Regions from separate parts of the Homo sapiens genome. Here regions 2 and 3 are each linked to region 1. Evidence: promoter capture Hi-C in 16 types of primary human blood cells and fetal thymus (Javierre and others, 2016). All regions are on one chromosome and are shown on one strand. The core of a region is centred on a gene start or on the middle of the fragment in contact, and the rest is flanking DNA. Distances in the headings are between cores, read along the strand shown.

The links. The method cuts DNA at HindIII sites, captures the fragments that hold promoters and counts their contacts. A CHiCAGO score of 5 or more calls a contact.
Region 2: a contact is called between a fragment that was not itself captured here and the fragment with the promoter of USP10 in region 1, in 1 of 17 cell types (fetal thymus). The highest score is 5.5, in fetal thymus.
Region 3: a contact is called between the fragment with the promoter of MBTPS1 here and the fragment with the promoter of USP10 in region 1, in 4 of 17 cell types (total CD4 T cells, non-activated CD4 T cells, naive CD8 T cells and 1 more). The highest score is 7.8, in total CD4 T cells.

The regions. Positions count from the first base shown.
Region 1 is chr16:84,698,692-84,701,330 of GRCh38, forward strand. It overlaps USP10 (ubiquitin specific peptidase 10), which reads left to right and starts at 1,309. Exons shown (of 14, transcript NM_005153.3): 1 at 1,309-1,420. The coding sequence starts at 1,400. RefSeq lists silencers at 781-1,300, 1,391-1,610, 1,621-1,730, 1,771-1,880. The HindIII fragment of the contact is 5,859 bases long and covers 1-2,109 here.
Region 2 is chr16:84,085,771-84,088,409 of GRCh38, forward strand. MBTPS1 (membrane bound transcription factor peptidase, site 1) reads right to left here. Exons shown (of 23, transcript NM_003791.4): 9 at 1,588-1,690. Among named protein-coding and RNA genes, the nearest start is that of MBTPS1, 30 kb to the right of the region's middle. The HindIII fragment of the contact is 2,176 bases long and covers 240-2,415 here.
Region 3 is chr16:84,115,644-84,118,282 of GRCh38, forward strand. MBTPS1 (membrane bound transcription factor peptidase, site 1) reads right to left here and starts at 1,299. Exons shown (of 23, transcript NM_003791.4): 1 at 1,092-1,299. MBTPS1-DT (MBTPS1 divergent transcript) reads left to right here and starts at 1,400. Exons shown (of 1, transcript NR_186375.1): 1 at 1,400-2,639. RefSeq lists silencers at 790-1,219, 1,620-1,719 and an enhancer at 1,870-2,029. The HindIII fragment of the contact is 14,847 bases long and covers 1-1,912 here.

The DNA.
Region 1 (2,639 bases), core at 59-2,558:
TTCAAGTGATCCTCCCACCTCAGCCTCCTGAGTAGCTGGGACGCCTGGTGTGCCACACTACATCCCACCAATTTTTGTATTTTTAGTAGAGTTGGGGTTTCATCATATTAGCCAGGCTGGTCTCCAACTCCTGACTTCAAGTGATCCGCCCGCCTCGGCCTCCCAATGTGTGGGATTCCGGGTGTGAGCCGCTGCGCCTGGCCCACTTATATTTTTCATGGCATCCCATTTATGAAGAGACCAGGCTCCCTATTTTATGTAACGTGGGAATGGATCTTCCTGTTCATCTCCTCTGCTCAGTGTACGGTCTAGCAAGAGCAGACTCTCTGTAGGTGTTTGTTGAATAAATGAAACCAATAGTAATGGTTATTAATAACAATCCCAGTAGCCAATTTTTATTGACTATTCTCTTGGCCAGTGTGCTCACGTTAATCTAATTTGAACCTCACAGAAATCTTACGCGTTATGACATATTTGTCTTATTCACAGGTGAGGAAACCAAGGCTTAGGGAAGGAAAGTCGCTTGTCTGAAATCACAGCTAGAAAAGGGGCCAAAACCCAAGGGTGGACCCACTGGCTGGAAAACAGTGCAGTTAGGCAGGGGCCCCTGTTTCTTAATAATGAATGAACCAACGACCCCCAAGGCTGGTTTGCCCGTGCACACGCACGCACGTGTGCAACACGTAGCACTTGCTGAGTGTTTGCTACTTGCCAGGCCTCATGTCAAGCACTTTACGCGTGCTTTTATGCCCTACGTTTTGTTTTTGTCTGTTTTGCTTTTTTCCCCTAATGCCTAGCCAAAGGCGTGGCCCAGGCGCCCAGGCAGGACTTGGGGAGTGAATGAAGAGTGAACAAATGAATGAATGCGCGGCAACGGGATCTTCATAAACCAGACCCTCCTCGGGGATCTAATGCGAACACTCCCGAGGCCCGGGCCCAGGTACGCTGAGGGCGGCTCGTGGGCCCCAGGCCGACCTCAGCCCGCGACTCCCGGGCTCCGGGGGCCCAGGTGGCCCCCAGTAGGTGAGGAGCCGGGCCCGCCGGCGCCTTGGCGTTGCCACCTCTACCTGCCTGCCCTCTCCCCTTCCGGATCCACAGCCAGGCCTCGGCGGGCTCCTGGTGTGCAGCCGCCCGGCCGCTTCCGCCCGAGGGTCGCGGGGCTCAGAGTCCGGCAGGCTCCAGGCGGGGCAGGGGATGTCCGCGGCCCGGCAGGCGCACGCCCACCTGTCGGCCGCGCAGGCGCAGCAGCGGGCCGGCCTCCCCGCGCCCCGCGGCGCGCGGCCAGTGCGCAGGCGCGGCGGCCGATGCGAGTGTGTATGTGCGGGCGAGAAGATGGCGGCGGCGGGGGAAGCAGCGTGAGCAGCCGGAGGATCGCGGAGTCCCAATGAAACGGGCAGCCATGGCCCTCCACAGCCCGCAGGTAGCCGCCGGTCTGCGCCTTCGGCCGGAAGGGGCCCGAGCCCCGGGCGGGCGGACGCCGCGGCGGGCGGGCGTCCGCGCCCTGCCCGGAGCGAGCGTGTGGGAGTGGGGGAGGGCGCTGGGACACGCTGCCCGGGCCTAGGCCGGAGCCACCCGCCGCCTCCGCGCCCGCCGCGCCTTCGTCCCCTGAGCCACCCGGACCCCCTAGTCCCGGGGAGGTCGAAGGGCGGGGGCTCCGGGCCCCGCTTGGGGAGGGCGTGGAGGGCGCCGAAGGGGTTAACCTCCCTGGGGCTGGACCGCGGGGCGAGCCCGGGGTGTGGAGTGGGGCCCTCCCCGCCGCGCCGGCCGGGGGAGGCGGCCCGGGGGCTCCGGGAGTCCCCTGGAGCGCAGGGGCCCCAGAGCAGCTCAGGTTGCTGCCTCTGCCTGGAGCGAGCCTCAGAGATTTGGGGGTGCCCTGTTGCCCCTTTGCCCCAAGAGCTTCCTTTCTCAGCTTGATTGATGATGCGGGGGTTGCCGATTTTCTGTTTTTTAGATAGAAGTAGCAGAGTAGCGGCCTTGGGCTGCTGTTGCAAAGAAAACTCGAAATAAGTCGCAAGGACCGTACTTTCACTTGCGTTTGAGTGACATCCCTTGCACGAATCCATCCCAGCCAGGCTGACAACTAACGCACCCTGCCTGAACAGTAGCTAAAGCTTGGGGGCCCTTTACAATAATCCCGTGGTGGAAAGAAAGAGCTCTTTTTGGGAGATGTGCGTGTAGAGTTAAGCTCTTATTCCCCTCTCCCACCCCTTCTCTCACATCTTCTCCCCCCTCCGCCATTATAATTATTCTGGACAAAAATCGGCATGATGTATTATTTGTCAGCCTTGCTTTAGACTGCTAATTTGTTGACATCTGGTCCCTATAAATTGTTGCACACTTTTAAACCATCTCATTGTGTATTTGTATTAAATATGGGGAAATGAAACAAAGTAGCCATTCGGGAAACTGATTGCGAGTAAAATCATAACCCTTCATGAGCAATTGGGTTTTGTTGCCCTTCTGCAGATGAAGTCAATCTGACTACACCTCTTTTGAAACATGATTTTCGGAACTATTGTAATGAATGCGTGTTGTGGAATCTAAAATGCGAAAACTTTTTAAAAAATTAGATCTTACGACAAGCTTCAATTTTGTTAAATTAGCTGTAGTTTAGTTTGCATCAGAATTTCCCCCTTTAA
Region 2 (2,639 bases), core at 78-2,577, 610 kb before region 1:
CACCAAGACCAGAAACTGGAAACTGCTTTATCTCTAGATAAGTTAAAATTAGAAATATGTTAGAAAAATTAGAAAATTAAAATGTAAAAAAACCCAAACATGTTTCTTTACAAGGAAAAAAGTACACGGTATGAGTGGATGTTTCAAACGGTTGTAAAAGAGGAAATAAGAAACCACTGAGAAGGAACAAGATAACCACACGACTAACTTGGGATAACGTTTTAATAAGTACTTGCTTAAGCTTCTTAAGAATTGGGGCAAAACGAAAATTAGAATAGGATCTCATATTCTGTCAGAAAACAGGAGCCCAATTTGAAGGGAAGCCCTTTTCTGACCATCAAACCCAAGGACCATGGATGCACATACTGGGATACCGAGTAAAGGCATCCTCCACTGCAGCTGTGATGATGGAAGGACATTTCTCAAATGCCATTAAAAAGCTGGCTGGTGATGAAGGCCATGGACGTGACATCTCATCACGGTTTGGTGAAAGCGTTTACACGGGGAGCTGGGGACAAAGTGGATGACATCTCACCACAGTTCGGTGAGAGCATTTACACAGGGAGCTGGGGACAAAGTGGTGGATGCAGTTTCCCATTATCCGGCAGCACAAGGAACATGCTGAGGGAGCGTGGATGGGAGGACACGCAGCCTGCCCTGCACAGACTGTCACATGAGAGAATGGTCCCCAGCCAACAGGTCAGCTCCAGGAAGAGGCACGTGAGTGTGGGAGGCGGGGACCCCTGGTGGGGCTGAGTGGCGGGGACGCTGGGGGCTGACGCTGTCACAGGACAAAGGCTCAGGCAGAAGGCTATCCTGTAAAGTGGCTACAGTGTGGACGAGGCCCACAGTGTTCCCAGGCAGTTGGGAATCTTTCCAGGGACTTATCTGAGGCCTCCGAGTGTGGCATGTGACGTTAAACACCAAGAGATGCTCTGACCCTGAAGAATGAGAAGGGCAGATGCTCCCCTCGGCCACAGCGAGGGCAAAGGTGCCCAACTGCTGTTCTGCACGAGCGTCTAATTTTTCATCAAACTTTGACAGGTAAAGGTGGGTGAATGTGCTGCATAATTAAACCCCAAACAGCTGAATTATTAACTGTAGCAGTTATTTTGAATTTGTCCAGCTAAATACAATTGTTTCTGTGTTAGCAGAGTTGATATTAAGCTGTTCTCAATGGTTTCTCCAACTTCTTAAGGCTCCCCTCCCCCAAAAAATATCATCTCACCTACCACTGAGGAGGACTGCTTACCACTACTAGATAGGGTAAACGGGCAGGAACCCAATTCACCTAAAGGTGAGTTCCTCAGAAATCAATTAATAAGTTAAACTGGGAAACACCGCTTAGAATCAGCCGGTGCTCATCACAGCAGCTGTGGACTTGCCAGAGTGAAGTGGCAGATGCTGACGGGGCCCAGATCTCTCGTCCTCACGGCTGGGCAGGCACTCACAGCCCCGGCTATTCCCATGTGAATGTGAGGGTGTCTGTGCACTTACAAATACACCCCAAGGCTCGTCAACAACCGGTGCCACTAGCCACAGTAGTTTGTCCAGCTAAATACAATTATTTAGCAAAGAAGAGCGTACCCAGGTAGTCATTCCCCTTGAAGAAAAGCGGGCGATGTTATCTTCAAAGTCAATGCCGCCTACTCCAATCACATCCATTTGATCAGCAGGGTTATTCAGAGTGCTATATTGAGACCAAAAAAAAAAAAAAAGAAAAGAAAAAGAAAAAAACAAGAGAAATAATTTAAAATGGATGATTCAAACCAGGGCGAATACTCCCAGAACAATCTAACACTGTATGAGCTGCTTCTGTGGGAAGACGTGTGCAGCTCCTCACGGCTGTCCTGTGAAACGCATGATCCTGCCACGTTCATGCTGTGCTCACATTACGCCCTCTCACCTGCAACGCCCCTCCTTTCTTCTCCTCCCTGTCAACTTGGCACACTGGGGCTCAAGGCTCACGTTTTCCCTCCAGCAATCCAAGCCTTAAGCATCTGTACTTGCCTTGAACCTCACAACACTTAACACAATCACAATTTATCACCTAACGACACATTCTCACATCACTTTCAAATTGTTCCCAGCACATTCATCTTAACTCCCCAGCTAAATCACACACTTCTCCTGGAAGAAACCATAACCACACATTTACATCTGCCAAGGTCAGGAAGTGGTAAGTTTTCGATTGACCTGTGGTGGTGTTCTACCCTCCTCATAGGGAACTGTAGAAGGACTATCATTACTCTGTAATCTTGAGCTCCTTAGAGTCTCTCCAATACCTTAAGTGCACTAGATCTGCAAAGAAATTATAGTGAAATAAATAATGGCAAAAATGTGTAAACCGTAAAGTCAAGATAAAGATGAACCATTTGAAAATATGAGACACTCAGTTATAAAACTGCATTGCTAAGCTTTATTATGGCTCCACTACCAAAAAAAATGAACTCTTTGACAAATCAACAACTACATACAACTGATTCCAAGTGGCTTAAGAGATAATAGCAGCATGAAGTTCTCCTTCTAGAGTGTGTTTTTAACTGACAATTCCCAACACACCGAGAAAAAGTGGTACTGCCTCCTCAGCCCACTGGCCACCAATATCCTACCAGCTGGTCATTCAGAGGAACGAATAA
Region 3 (2,639 bases), core at 49-2,548, 580 kb before region 1:
TGTTTCCATCTGAATATACGAAATAGTCATTAAAGGCAAATCTAGAAAGACAAAGTAGATGAAAGGTTGCCTGTGGCGGGGCCTGGAAATGGGCATTGACTACAACTGGGCATCAGAGGTCTTGGGGTAACGGAAATGTTCTAAAAGTGGATTTGGTAGTGGCTGTGCTGCTGTAAATTTACTAAAAACCACTGAATAGTACACTTAAAACAGGTGGATTTTATGGTATGTAAATTCTACTTCAATGAAGCTCTTACATTAAAAAATAAGTATAAATAATAAAAGCGGATTCTCCAGATTGAAAAAAAAAAAAATGAGAGGAATTACTTCTCTTCTGCAAGCCCTCCTTTTCGTAGACATACAATTGGAGACCTTGACGTTAGGAGGGCTTACCTACACAGTTCAGACTAAAGGATGAGTCTCCAGAATTCAACGCAGGTCGTATTCCACTCCACGTAATTTCGAAGTGTCAATCAGAATCTAATAACTTAATTTGTGTAGACAAATAGGCCAAGATTCTCAGGGGCTCAACCCAATATGAAAGGTAAACATCTTAATAAAAATACTGACGATCCACAACGGTCTTAGGTAGCGCAACCATGCCAAGGCGAGGCAAGATTTTTAAGAAGCTACAGGTTTAAAAGGCAATCTGGTTCTGAGAGTTCGCCGAACAGAATCCCCGCATTTCCAAAAACCAGCAGCGCAATATGCACAGACCGAGATAAGGCAAAGAATCGACGTCTTTTAAACCTGACGCCAGCACTGCCCCGGAAGCGCACCTAGAATTGAGTCTGTCTGGAGGCTCCGGGCCAGAGCAGGGCGTATTGTTTCACTCGGTGAATGCTCATTTCACGTAAAGAAAACCAGGCAACGGAACAAGCTGCCGGAGCGCGCAGACCCCCGCAGGGCCGCGGTACAGGCACGCTGTGTCCAAACAAGCGCCGGAGGCCCCGCGCCCACCTCCCCCGACCCGGCCCGGCCCCCGCAGCCCTCGCCTCGGGGCCTCGGACGCAACCGGCACACCTGAGCGAGCGGGCCGCCGCCGCTAGGCGGAGCGGGTCGGGGAGGCCGCGCGCGGGCGGCTGACGTACCTGCGCCGCCGGGAGCTCAGGGCCGGCGGGCCCGGGATAACGGCGCCTCCGCGGCGAACACGCCTGGGCACTCCATTCGGGGCTGTTTACTCCCAACTCTCGCGAGACTGGGCGACCGGGCCAGCGAGGCCCACAGCTGGGAGCCTCAGCTCCGCCGACCCAGCGTGCCCTGTCTGTCCCGCGCTCCCGGGGCTTGCGTGCGCGCTCTGGACGCCGTGGGCAGCGGGACCACGCCGGGAGGATGGACGAAGGTCTCGCGACATTTGCGGCGGCGGGGGCCGGTGGCAGGGTGGAAGCGGAGGGGCGTGGCCAGCGAGCTGCCAGGCGGCGAGAACGCGCTGGGGGAACCCTTGGTCCGCTCTGCGCGTCGCTCTAGGATCCCCGAAAAGGAGCACGGGCGCGAAAGCGGCCAGGCTGGGCCAGGATCTAGAAAGACTGCCTGGCGCAGGCTCCCTGCCCCCGCGGGCCTGCTGTCATGGACTCGTGGAGAGCTCGCTTCCCGCGCGGACCCTTCCTGCAGGGGTCCACGTCCAGGCACCGGCGGCTCGGACACCCCACCCCCGGCCGGGCACCTGCCCTGGGTGCCCCTTAACCCGGGCGGTAGCTCGTTAAGATGGCGAAGTGTCCGGTCCGGAACACGCGAAACCCCAAATCCCGCCTGCCCGACCTCCTGACCCCCGGCCCCACGGGACGACAGACTGGGCCTCCCGACGCGCAGCGCGCTGCCGGGACACCGGTGCGTGCGAAACGGAGGACCTTTGTAACGCCACGTGTTTGCTCTTTTTGAAAAAACAAGAATAAATGTGTTAAACTGTCTGAAAAGCTTGCCGCCTAAAAGATGTCTGGGTGACTTAGATGCTAGGATCAGTTTGTTTTCAATGTAAATGGACCAGCCCGGACTCCGTACGGCACTAGCAGGGGACTGAAAGCGTCTTCAGGTACTGCTGGTGGGCGGTGATGCGCTACAGGCCGATCAGACAGTTTTGTGTCTTTTGGAACTTGACACTGCACCACGGTAATGCTGAACTGCACCAATATTACAGATCACAGCGCATCATCTTCCTTCAACATGATTTAACACAGTTGACTTAATATGGTGGATAAATGTAGAATCACAAATTACCATACCCCACCTCAGGCTTCTACTTCGTAATTTTGAGCAGGTTGTTTAACCTCTTTGTACCTCAGCTTCTTCATTACAAAAATAGGGGTACTAGCCAGGCGGGGTGGCTCGCGCCTGTAATCCCAGCACTTGGGGAGGCCGAGGCAGCCGGATCACTTGAGGTCAGAAGTTTCAGACCAGCCTGGTCAACATGGGTGAAACGCCGGCTCTACCAAAAATATAAAAACTTAGCTGAGTGTGGTAGCGCATGACTGTAATCCCAGCAACTCAGGAGGCTGAGGCAGAGAATCGCTTGAACCTGGGAGGCGGAGGTTGCAGTGAGCTGAGATCGTACCACTGCACTCCAGCTTGGGCGACAGAGCGAGACTCTGCCTTAAAAATAAATAAATAATTTTTTTAAAAAATAGGGGTACTAATATCTACCT